Linked DNA regions of Homo sapiens: all the other regions are linked to region 1. The links are contacts of gene promoters, found by promoter capture Hi-C in blood cells and fetal thymus (Javierre and others, 2016). All regions are on one chromosome and are shown on one strand. Each heading gives the region's core, a stretch centred on a gene start or on the middle of the fragment in contact. The rest is flanking DNA. Distances are from core to core; before and after follow the strand shown.

What was found. Contacts are between HindIII fragments. The CHiCAGO score rates a contact against its expected background, and 5 or more counts as called.
Region 2: a contact is called between a fragment that was not itself captured here and the fragment with the promoter of AP3B2 in region 1, in 10 of 17 cell types (total CD8 T cells, naive CD8 T cells, total B cells and 7 more). The highest score is 10.3, in total CD8 T cells.
Region 3: a fragment that was not itself captured here is called in contact with the fragment with the promoter of AP3B2 in region 1 in 4 of 17 cell types (activated CD4 T cells, total CD4 T cells, monocytes and 1 more); the score reaches 6.1 in activated CD4 T cells.
Region 4: a fragment that was not itself captured here is called in contact with the fragment with the promoter of AP3B2 in region 1 in 1 of 17 cell types (monocytes); the score reaches 5.8 in monocytes.

What each region holds. Positions count from the first base shown.
Region 1 is chr15:82,708,469-82,711,168 of GRCh38, forward strand. It overlaps AP3B2 (adaptor related protein complex 3 subunit beta 2), which reads right to left and starts at 1,407. Exons shown (of 27, transcript NM_001278512.2): 1 at 1,126-1,407. The coding sequence starts at 1,238. It also overlaps the pseudogene LOC338963. RefSeq lists silencers at 931-1,190, 1,411-1,460. The HindIII fragment of the contact is 2,125 bases long and covers 1-2,005 here.
Region 2 is chr15:83,072,469-83,075,168 of GRCh38, forward strand. No RefSeq gene overlaps it. Among named protein-coding and RNA genes, the nearest start is that of MIR4515, 6.5 kb to the left of the region's middle. The HindIII fragment of the contact is 7,362 bases long and covers 1-2,700 here.
Region 3 is chr15:83,048,474-83,051,173 of GRCh38, forward strand. It overlaps BTBD1 (BTB domain containing 1), which reads right to left. Exons shown (of 8, transcript NM_025238.4): 3 at 1,600-1,705. All of the region lies in intron 1 of LOC124903542 (a long non-coding RNA gene), which reads left to right. Among named protein-coding and RNA genes, the nearest start is that of BTBD1, 17 kb to the right of the region's middle. The HindIII fragment of the contact is 2,213 bases long and covers 296-2,508 here.
Region 4 is chr15:83,096,006-83,098,705 of GRCh38, forward strand. LOC124903543 (a long non-coding RNA gene) reads right to left here. Exons shown (of 2, transcript XR_007064743.1): 2 at 1-2,700. Among named protein-coding and RNA genes, the nearest start is that of TM6SF1, 10 kb to the right of the region's middle. The HindIII fragment of the contact is 2,989 bases long and covers 1-2,700 here.

The DNA.
Region 1 (2,700 bases), core at 157-2,656:
GCTTCCACCTCTTCCACAGCCTCAAATCTTCTGCCTCTCCCCTGGTCTAGGCCACAATCATGCCAGGCCTGTGAACTTCAAGACCCACCTCCCTTGTCTCTTGTTCAATCTGGCCCACCTCCAATCTCTTCTCCACAATGCAGCAGCCTGACGTCCTTCTAAAATATAAATCTGATTATGTCGCCTGCTTAGAATCCTTCAGGAGTCCTCCCCACCCTCTTTTCTGGTCAGTCCAGTGGCTCACACAGATTGTGGCCTGGCTCTCAACCTTCCTGAAAGCCCTTTCCTCTGCCTGGAACATACCTCACGCTCCTGTCTTCCTTCTCTCCGGCGCCAGAGACTAGGTCCTCTCCCTGCTCCCACTGCCCCCATTACACTCGACTGTCCCTGACTGCTTCTTCATCTGTGCTCCCCTCTAGAGCATCGTGAGGACAAGAAGGGTCTCATGTTCACAGTTGTATTCCGTGACTAGTTCAGGACTCGACACAGTTGGCTTTTCATAAATGCTTGTTGCAGAATTTACGAATAAACAAATGAAGAAACAAACGAACGAATCAAAGGTGGGGGAGGGTGTGAAGGTGGAGCTGAACTACAGGGGCAATGCCAGGAGCAGGGATGTGAGGGTCAGATGGAGATGGGGACCAGAGGGAGGGGAAATGAATTTGCAGCAGGGCCAAGCTGGGAGGCTGTGCAAGTACATCCAGGGCCCGCCTTCCTGAAGAGGCCCCAGGCTCAAGCTCAAGTTCGCTGACTCAGACCCCTCCCCCACATTTTTGGGAAGCCAACCCGCCTAGCACGAAAAAGGAAGGGAACCCCTAACGCAACGCCGCAAACCGGAGAAACACCTGGAACCGGAGGGTTTCTCCTCTCGAAACTGAGCTGGCCCATCCCCCGCCAGCCCCTATCTGCCCCCCTCCGCGTCCTAGGCCGGCCCCTGGAGCCGGGGTGCCAGCGCTGCCCGCGCTGGGCCGGGGCTCCAGGCCGCAGGAGGGGGCCGGGCGGGCTTCCGGTCGGCGCGGCCGGGGCGGGGCCGGCGCTGGGGCCGGGCGCTGTCCATGGTGCCCGCGCGCCTCGCCCGGTCCCCGGCCCCAACCCTCCCGCGAGCTTCCTGGCGGGCTCCCTCACCGCTTGTAGTCGGAGGAGAAGATGCCGCCGCTCGCGGGGTCGTGGCCGTACTCGGGCTCCCCGGGGCCAGCGGAGCCGCCCTTGTCTTCGCTGTAGGCGGGGGCGGCCGACATGGGGCGGCCAGGGAGACTTCGCCGAGGAGGAGGTTGCGGGGCCGGAGGCCGGCTGGAGCGGAGGAAGGGAAGGCGGGCCGGTCCGGTCCGGGCTGGCGAAGGCGGCGGCGCGGCAGGGGTTCAGCAGAGGCTGCAGTGTGCAGCGGCGGAGGCTGCGCGCGGATTTCTCAATCAGGGCCGCGCGCTGAGGTCTTAAAGGCACCGGCGCCAGCCGAGCGGAGGGCGTGTCCGCGAGGAGGCGACAGGGGCGGTGCGTCAGGGCCTGGCCCCGCCCATCCCTAGGAAATGCCCTCTTCAGGGCGTCTTCTGCCCTTTAAAGCGACTTGGCTCGTCTCCAGATCTAAAGGTGGGCGAGTCTGCTGGACGGACGCTGGGACCGTCTTGCAGGGGATGTGGAATAGCTGCCCCCACCCCCGACCACCTGGCCTCGGCGGGACGGGCCTCTGGGGCTCCGCTCTCCCCAGACGCACGCGCGGATGCTCACCCACGCCGTGGAGGGAAAGCGGGAACTGGAAAGAAGGCTGTGCCCGCAGGCTGGGGGTTCTAGAGCGGGAAGGGGTCACCGCACCCGAGGACCGGCCTCAGATACCTAAGGACGCTCCCTTTCCCGCCCCACCTTTCCTACAAAATCTGGCTTGGCAGCAGGAAGCCGAGGAGCTTCCTGGAGGTGGCGGAATTTAAGGAATTAAGGTCAGGGAGCTCCGAGGAGCCCTTGGGGGCTTAGAGAGATGGGAAACAGGATACAGAGGACGGTGAACATCTAATTAAGCTTTGGAAAGTAGTTTAATGAATCTTTCTGAAGCCTCCACGTCCACCCAGGAGGGCCAAGGTCATGCTTAATCCGGGGACACGTCCACGTCCATTGACACCTGAAAAGGAAGAGAAGGGTCTGGTGTGACCACCAGGGCTCCTGAGTCATGTGAGCCCTCCAGTTCAGCTCCCGAGCCCGAGTGACCCCTAGGCCCAAGGAAGGAAGGCTTGGATCCGATGGAAAGTAGTGAATTGGGCTGGGGGAAGAGGTAGGATCCAGTTGGGCATCAGTTGAGGTGGCTGGAGTCTTTTAGCTGGGCATGGGGACTGGAGGAGTTCCTAAGGCCTGAGTCTTGGTCTGTAACTAGCATCCCGAAGTCTCCATGGGCAGAATTGGCGGGCCTACCTGGGAAGGAGTGGGGCCCAGAAAGGTGGAGCTTGGCTCAGTAGAAAAGTTCTATTGGGGGTAATTCTACTGGGGTAAGGTTCTATTGGGGTAATGAGAAGGTTCTGTTGGGATAACCTAGACAAGTGGGTGGGTCCGCTTGGTTCCGGTGGCTTTGTGCCTGCCAGAGAAAAGTGGATCTTGAATTTGGAGAAAACTGGCCTGGGTGGGGAGTGGGAAGAGAAGGGCCTGGATTTTGCAGTTGCGCGTTTATAAGGCGCTTTGGCTAGTCTGCTCAGGAGGTGGGATGGGTCCTGTGCAGGTAGC
Region 2 (2,700 bases), core at 99-2,598, 360 kb after region 1:
GTGATCTGTTTGAAGACATATGTGTTGTCCTACACTTTTTCATCTACAATGTTGTCAAGAAAATTAAAAATTATGAGGCATATTGAAAACATGAGAGAGAGGGAGAGAGAGAGAAGATAATGGAATCAGTTCTATAGGATTCAGGTATTGAATTTATCAGACAAGGACTTTAAAATAACTATGATTGCACTTTGGGAGTCTGAGGGCAGGTGGATCACCTGAGGTAGGGAGTTTGAGACCAGCCTGGCCGGTATGGTAAAACCTTATCTCTACTAAAAATACAAAAAATTAGCTGGGCGTGGTAGTGGGTGCCTATAATCCCAGCTATTTGGGAGACTGAGGTGGGAGAATCGCTTGAACCTGGGAGGCGGAGGTCGCAGTAAGCCAAGATTGCACCACTGCACTCCAGCCTGGGCCTGACAGAGCGAGATCCCATCTCAAAAAAAAAAAAAATAAAAATAATAATAATAATAATAATAATAAATAAAATAACTATAATTACTGTATGAAAAAAATAGAAAAAAGATGAAGAATTTTACCAGAGAATTGGAATCTGTGCAGAAGGGTCAAATGGAGATCCTTGACCTGAAAAAGTACTATAACAAATTAATAACTAATTTGTGTTTAATAGAAAATTAGATATAGCAGAACAGAGAATTAATGTAACTGGAAGACAAGCCTGTAGAAAATGTTTAAATTGAAACACAGAGAGAAAAAAGCATAGAAAATACAGAAAACAGGCCAGGCACAGCAGCTCACACCTGTAATCCCAGCACTTTAGGAGCCCAAGACAGGCAGATTGCTTAAGGCCAGGAGTTTGAGACCAGCCTGGGCAACATGGCAAAGCTCCACCTTTACAAAAAATACAAAAATTAGCTGGGCATAGTGGTGTCCAACTGTAATCCCAGATACTCAGCTGGCTGATGCAGGAGAATCACTTGAACCCTGGAGGTGGAGGCTGCAGTGAGCCATGATCATGCCACTGCACTCCAGCCTGGGCAACAGAATGAGATCCTGTCTCAATAAAATAAATAAATAAATAGGAAACAACATATGTCTGTTAATTCTGTTAATCATGAGACAAAGTGAAAAGGACTAACATATGTATAATGGAGTCATAGAAGGATGATAGAGAATGAGGCAGAAGAGCATTTGAAAAAAATACTGGCTGGAAAATTTCCATACTGATGAAATATATCAAACTACAAGGAAATGTAAGCCTTTGCTACTCTTGCATTCTGCATATCTGCAGACTTAACACCACGTGGATGCCACCAAGGCTTATGGCTTGCATCCTCTGGATAGGCAGCCTGAGCAGCACCCAGGGCTGGAATGTAGGAAGCAGAGTCCAAAGGTGGCTGCAGGGCAGCAGCACCCCAGGCCTGGCCCCCAAAACATTCTGTCCTCCTAGACCCCTGGCCTGTGATGGGAGAGACAGACTTGAAGATTTCTGAAATGCCTTCAGGGACTTTTTCCATTGTCTTGACTATTAGCACCTGCCTCCCTTTTTTTTTTTTTTTTTTTTTTTTTTTTTTTTTTTTTTTTTTTTTTTTTTGTTAAAGACTGTCTCGCTCTGTTGCCAGGCTGGAGTGCAGTGGCATGGTCTTGGCTCACTGCAACCTCCACCTCCTGGGTTCAGGTTATTCTCTTGCCTCAGCCTACCAAGTAGCTGGGATTATAGGCATGTGCCACCATGCCCAGCTAATTTTTGTATTTTTAGTAGAGACGGGGTTTCACCATGTTGGCCAGGCTGGTCTTGAACTCCTGACCTTGTGATCTGCCCACCTTGGCCTCCCAAAGTGCTGAGATTACAGGCGTGAGCCACCACGCCTGGCCCGAGCACCTGCCTCCCTTTTATCTGTGATAATCTCTCTAACAAGTGGTGGCTCAGCTGTGCTCTTGGATTCCTCACCTGAAAATGTTCTTTCCTTCTGTACCACATGGCCAGGCTGAGAATTTTCCAAAGTTTTACTCTCTGCTTCCCTTTTAAGTTCCAATTTTAGATCATGCCTTGACTCCTATATCTGCTCATAATCTGTTAAAAGTAGCCACACCATGTCTTGGATGCTTTGCTGCTTAGAAATTTCTTCTACCAGATACCCTAGGTCATCACTCTGAAGTTCAGCCTTCCACAAAGTCCTAGTGCATGGACACAATGCAGCCACGTTATTTGCTATAGTTTAACAAGGGTGACCTTTGCTCCAGTTCCCAATAAGTGCCTCATTTCCAACTGAGACCTCATCAGCCTGGCCTTCATTGTTCATGTTTCTATCAGCATTTTGCCCACAACCACTTAACCAGTCTCAAAGTTTCAAACTTTCCCTTGTCTTCCTGTCTTCTTCTGAGCCCTCCAAACTCTTCCAACATCTTCCCATTACTCAGTTTTAAAACCACTTCCACATTTTCAGGTATCTTCCTAGTAACCCCCGACCCTTGGTACAAATTTTCTGTCCTAGTCCATTTGTGATGCTATAAAGGAGTACCTGATGCTACATAATTTATAAAGAAAAGAGGTTTATTTGGCTCACAGTTTTGCAGGCTGCTTCTACTCATGGTGGAAGGCAAAGGGGGCAGCTGGCATGTACAGATCACATGGTGAGAGAAGAAGCAAGAGAGAGGGGAGGAGGTGCCAGGCTCTTTCAATAATCAGTTCTAATGAGAACTAAGAGTGAGAATTCACTTACTCCCATGAGAATAGCA
Region 3 (2,700 bases), core at 152-2,651, 340 kb after region 1:
TACTCTCCTACAAGACAAAAGGTACATTGTTAGCCTATCATTAGATGGTCCTCTATCACCTGGCTTTAACCTGCTTTGCACCTCCTTCCTCTTATACACTTCTTCCTGAGGTTCCACTTGCCGCTAATGCCCTCCCCTCTCCACTATCCAAACACAGTAAGTCCTCAACGTATGGGTTCTTGGAAACTGTGACTTCAAATGAAAGTGTCTAACGAAAGCAATTTTACCATGAGCTAACTGATAGAAACAAGAGTTAAGTTCCTATGGCATATTTCTGGTCACAAAAATACCACCAAGCTTCTAAATAAAGACTCAAAGCACTTCTAAATTGAACAGTGAAATAAATGTGAGCTATACATACATTTAAGAAAGATTAATACAGACAAGAAAGAGAATCATTTACCCAATTTTTGGTGAATCAGTGAGTGACAGTGGTCATAGTGGTGGTGGGTTAAATCCAGGAATAAACGTTTACAAAGTGAAAATTTTGAGGAGGACCTCCCACACAACGCAGTTCAAAAGCAAATAACATAGTGGACTTGCCGAGCGCTTTCATACTATGTCATTTATCATCAAACATTTGTATGATTATCATATACTTTACAAATTTTTACTTGATAAATCATTTTCCAATCCACTTATTCCAGTTCAGAGTCTCAGGTGGCCAGAGCTTATCCCAGTGGCTTGGTATAGGCAGGAACCAATCCCACACAGTACATCATTTCATCACAGGGCACACTCACACACACTCTCATTCAGACTGAGGCCATTTCGACACACCAAAGAACCTAAATGCACATCTTTGGGATGTGAGAGGAAACTAGAGTGCCTGGAGAAAACCACGAAGATACAGGAGAACATGTAAACCCTACAGATCGTGGCCCCCGCCAGGCGTCCATTTTTTTCTTATCAACATTATAATGAAACGACATTATTCAAGGACCTACTGTGCTATCCATTCTTTAAGGCTCATATCAGAACCTCCTCTGTCAAAATTTTCCTAACACTACTGCAATTTGAAGTAATCGCACCATTTTCCGGATTTGCATAGTAATTACTTTCTACATATCTAATTTAGAAAAGATAGAAATCACATTTTACCATATGTCCTCTCTTTTTTTTTAATTTTTATTTTAAGTTCAGGGGTACATGTGCAGGTTTGTCACAGAGGTAAACTTGTGTCATCGGGGTTTGCTGTACCGACTATTTCATCACCCAGGTATTAATGCCCTCTCTTCTATTAGCGTTTTAAATCTTAATTTTCAAATATTTGTTCTTTGATTCTCCAATTAGACGTTTCCTTAACAAGACAACTCATCTCTTACTATTTTTTATATTTCCTATGGACCCTAGAATAATGCCATGCATATGATGGGCATTCAATGAATATTTATTTGATTTGAAATCTTTTAACAGGCAATGAGCTAGTTAAGACTTTTAGAAATATTTTCACCAAAACAAAAAAAAGCAAAACTCTTAGAGAGACTTCAATCATTTGGGAAAGCCACTGATTTAAAAATAGCCCCTTCTCCAACAAGGCTGACAAGTAAGGCATTAACTGTACTTAAAATGTAACAATTTACTTCATAGCGAACTTACCTATATCAATATCAGTAAACCCTTCTGCACTTATTGCATCCATTGTGCTTTTGTCTATTGTATCTAGACAAAGACTAGCAAGCTGAGGTTCATCAAATAATCGAGCCTAAACATATAAAGAGATAGTTATTTAACTTTCATAGTTATTTTACCTTCAGACTGTACATATTTGAAATTAATATTGTCAACAGTTATAATTGCTAATTATGTAAAAATATCTACTTAAAATACACGCAATAATGTCTACATATTCTTAAAACTTTTCATTCTACAATCAGAAATGAAAAGCTAAAAATACAAATGCCCTGCTAAGAACAAATTGACATTACCAATACCAATCCTGTTATTTTTATGTGCTTGTGTGTGTGTGTGTGTGTGTGTGTGTGTGTGTGTACAGCCTATATTCTTATACATTACTTATTCTGATCCTTAATGAACCCTTTATGTTAGATAAGGCTTACATTATTATCCCATTTTCAGAGGTTTGGAGAGGTACAGTGACTTGCCTAAGATCATCTAGTTAAGTATGTTGCACAGCTAGTACTTAAATCTTATAGTCTTTTCACTAATTATAATATCAATTGTCAAGCACAACAGTGCAAATATCAGATTTTCTCTTCCATTGCCTGTTTTGATTTTGAGGAGAGAATAGGGTACTAGAATTTTAGAGCATGACAGCTCTGGAAACCTAAGCAAAATTAGGTCTAACAACACAAGAACAAATACATAAAATTCACATGACGGAATATTATACAACAATGAGAATGAACAATCTACAACTACACAAACCAATATAAATGAACCACACAAACCTAATGATGAGCAAAAAAGCCAGAATATATAATGAGCAAGAATATGTACTGTAGAATTCCAGAAGAACTAATTTTGGCTTTAAGATGTTAGAAGTCAAGCTTACAATATGTGCTTTATCAATACATATGTTATAACCCTCCCCCACAAAAAAAAAAAAAACAGTTTATAAGCAGGGGGAGTCCAAGTTAAACTCAAGCAAGATTTTTAAAAAGCTGAAACACTGAAAAAGGAGGTATGATGATAGGCATGCCAATGACCAACCTTTCATTCTGGCCTGGGGTTAGTTCT
Region 4 (2,700 bases), core at 188-2,687, 390 kb after region 1:
CAATGTTGTTCATGTCAGGTGAAAGTTCTGTTTCTTTTTCTTTCTAGGAAATCCCCAAGATTTTAAGATTTCCCATTTATATTTGGAGTTGTGAAATTGTACCAAGATGTGTCTGGATTTTAATTCAATTTGACGTATCTTTACTGATGGCTCCAGGGTGCAAGGCACTGTTCAAGGTGCTGGGCTTCATTAGGGAACAAATCAAAGATTCCTGCCCTCCTGGAACTTACATTCTAGCAGGGGAGACAGGTCATAAATAATATGCATAATGCATAAGACAATTATGTAGTGTGCTAGTATTATATAGTGCTATCAAAAAAAGGAATAAATAGAGTAAGGAGAACTGAGAATGCTAGTGAGGGAGGTTTAATCTTATTTTTTTCTTTTTATTGAGGCAGGGTCTCACTGTGTTGCCCCAGGCTGGAGTGCAGTGGTGCAATCATAGTTCACTGCAGCCTCCACCTCCCAGATTTGAGTGATCCTCCCACCTCAGCCTTCTGAGTAACTGGGACTACAGGTGTGCGACATCACGCCTGGCTAATTTTTAAATTTTTTGTACAGATGGGGTCTCACCATATTGCCCAGGCTAGTCTTGAAATTCTGGGCTCAAGTGATCCTCCTGCCTTAGCCTCCCAAAGTGCTGGGATTATAGGCATGAGCCACCATGCCTAAGAGTTTAACCCTTTTACCTTAATTTTGTTCAGTGAACACTTTCAGTCTTAAAGACTCACATATTTCTTGAGCTTAAGAAAATGTTGTTCTGTGACTTCTTTGGGTATTCTCTCTCTTTCATTTTCTCTGTTCTTTCCTAATCAGACAGATGCTGGATCTCTGTGTCTGTCCTTGGCACTCTCTTATGTTTGCTGTCTCTTTGTTTTTCTTGCTCTACATTCTGAGATTCCTTGATTCCAGATCAACTGCTTGGTCTTTCGCTGCATCCAATTTATTATTTGGCGCACTTATTGAGTGTTCCCTATTGCAATCCCACTTTTAATTCCCAAGAATCTTTTCTTGTTCTTTGCTTGTTCCTTTCCCATAGCCACCTCTTCTCAGTTCTTGAATGCAGCATCTTCTCAAATTATTCTGAAGATAGTGACCACAATTTTTATAAAATCTTTCTTTCCTAAATTATCTCTGTTTCCTCCAAGGTCAATTTTTCTATTGGTCCAACTTGGATCTTCTCTTCCATGCTGTTGGTTTTCCTAATATATTTGCAATCTTTGGTTTTCTGTTTACGTTGATGAATAAAGGACTATGTTCATTAGTATGGTAGTTTCCATGAGTGTCTTTGCAGAGATGTGTAAGTCACTGTTAGGCCCCTTCCTTGGCTGACAGAATCATCTGAGGGTTCTTTGTAAGTAGGTGGGGCCTATCAAAAGATAGAAACCCTTTTAGGTTGTCTGAAGGAGAAGCAAACAGTCAGGTTAGAGACATTCACAGTAGTTCAAGTGGGCTTTACCCTCCACTGAGGGGTAGATCTCTTTAGTATTTCAAACTGGGGTCTACTTCATTCTCAAGCCCTATACCCCGCTTCAAACACTCCATGAGCCACCCTGGGCAACATAACAAGATCTCGTCTCTACAAAAAATTAGCCAGGTGTGGTGGTGCAAGTCTGTAGTCCAAGACCCTGGAGGCTGAAGTGGGAGGATCACTTCAACTCAGAAATCTGAAGCTGCAGTGAGCTATGACTGCACAACTGTACTCCAGCCTGGGTGACAGAGCAAGACCCTGTCTCTAAAACAACAAAAAACACTCCTTAGGAAGTTTGCCCACTTTCTTTAAAAAGCAGTTTTCCTGATTAATCTTGAGTGTGAAAGCCATTGCTTCTAGTTACTACATGTTCATGCACAGAAGAGGGTAAGAGCTGACTATCTGAGCTATTCTCAGTGCTGTTCCTGAATGATCATCCAAAGTCTCCGTCTACTCTTTGCATTTGTTGATTCTGAGCTTGGACCTATCTCCCCTAGGAAGAATTCTGGTGCTTCAGTCTTAATCCTCTATTCTTTCTCCATTGCTGTTTTGTATTTTTCAGTTATCTACTGCTGCATAACCACCCCAAAATTTAGTGGCTTAAAACATTTAAAAAAGTATCATTTCTCATGTGGGTTGATTATGCAGTTGTTTTGCTTTATTTGGTGTTGAAAGGTTCATGACATCCTCCCATGGCTAATTTTTAGTGATACCTACTGGCTGGGATCTCAATTCAGGTTGTCAGCCAGGGACCTTAGTTCTTCTCCATGTTAGCCTTTCTACATGGCTGGTTGAGCTTCCTGACAGCATGGTGGCTTAGGTTCCAAGAAGGTGCATTCTAAGAGGATTAAACCCTAATGTACAAGCAGTTTTATAAGCCTCTGCTTACATTTCCTAATGTCTCACTGGCCAAAACAAACTACATAGCCAAGTTCACAGTCAAGTGGTAGGAGAGATGCTGTTTATTAGGGGCACCCAAAGTAACAGCACAATATTCTATGTATCCTTCACATTTTCTGGTTCACTAGTAGAACCCTTTCCTGTTTTCAAGTACTGTGTTTTTTCTTCTTTAAAAAATAAAACAGAGCTGAGATTGGTGGTGCACACTTGTAGTCCCAGATACTCAGGAGGCTGAGATAGGAGCATTGCTTGAGCCCAAGAGATCAAGGTCAGCCTGGTAAACATAGCAAGACCCTGTCTCTAAAAGAAAAAAAAAAATGTGTGTGTGC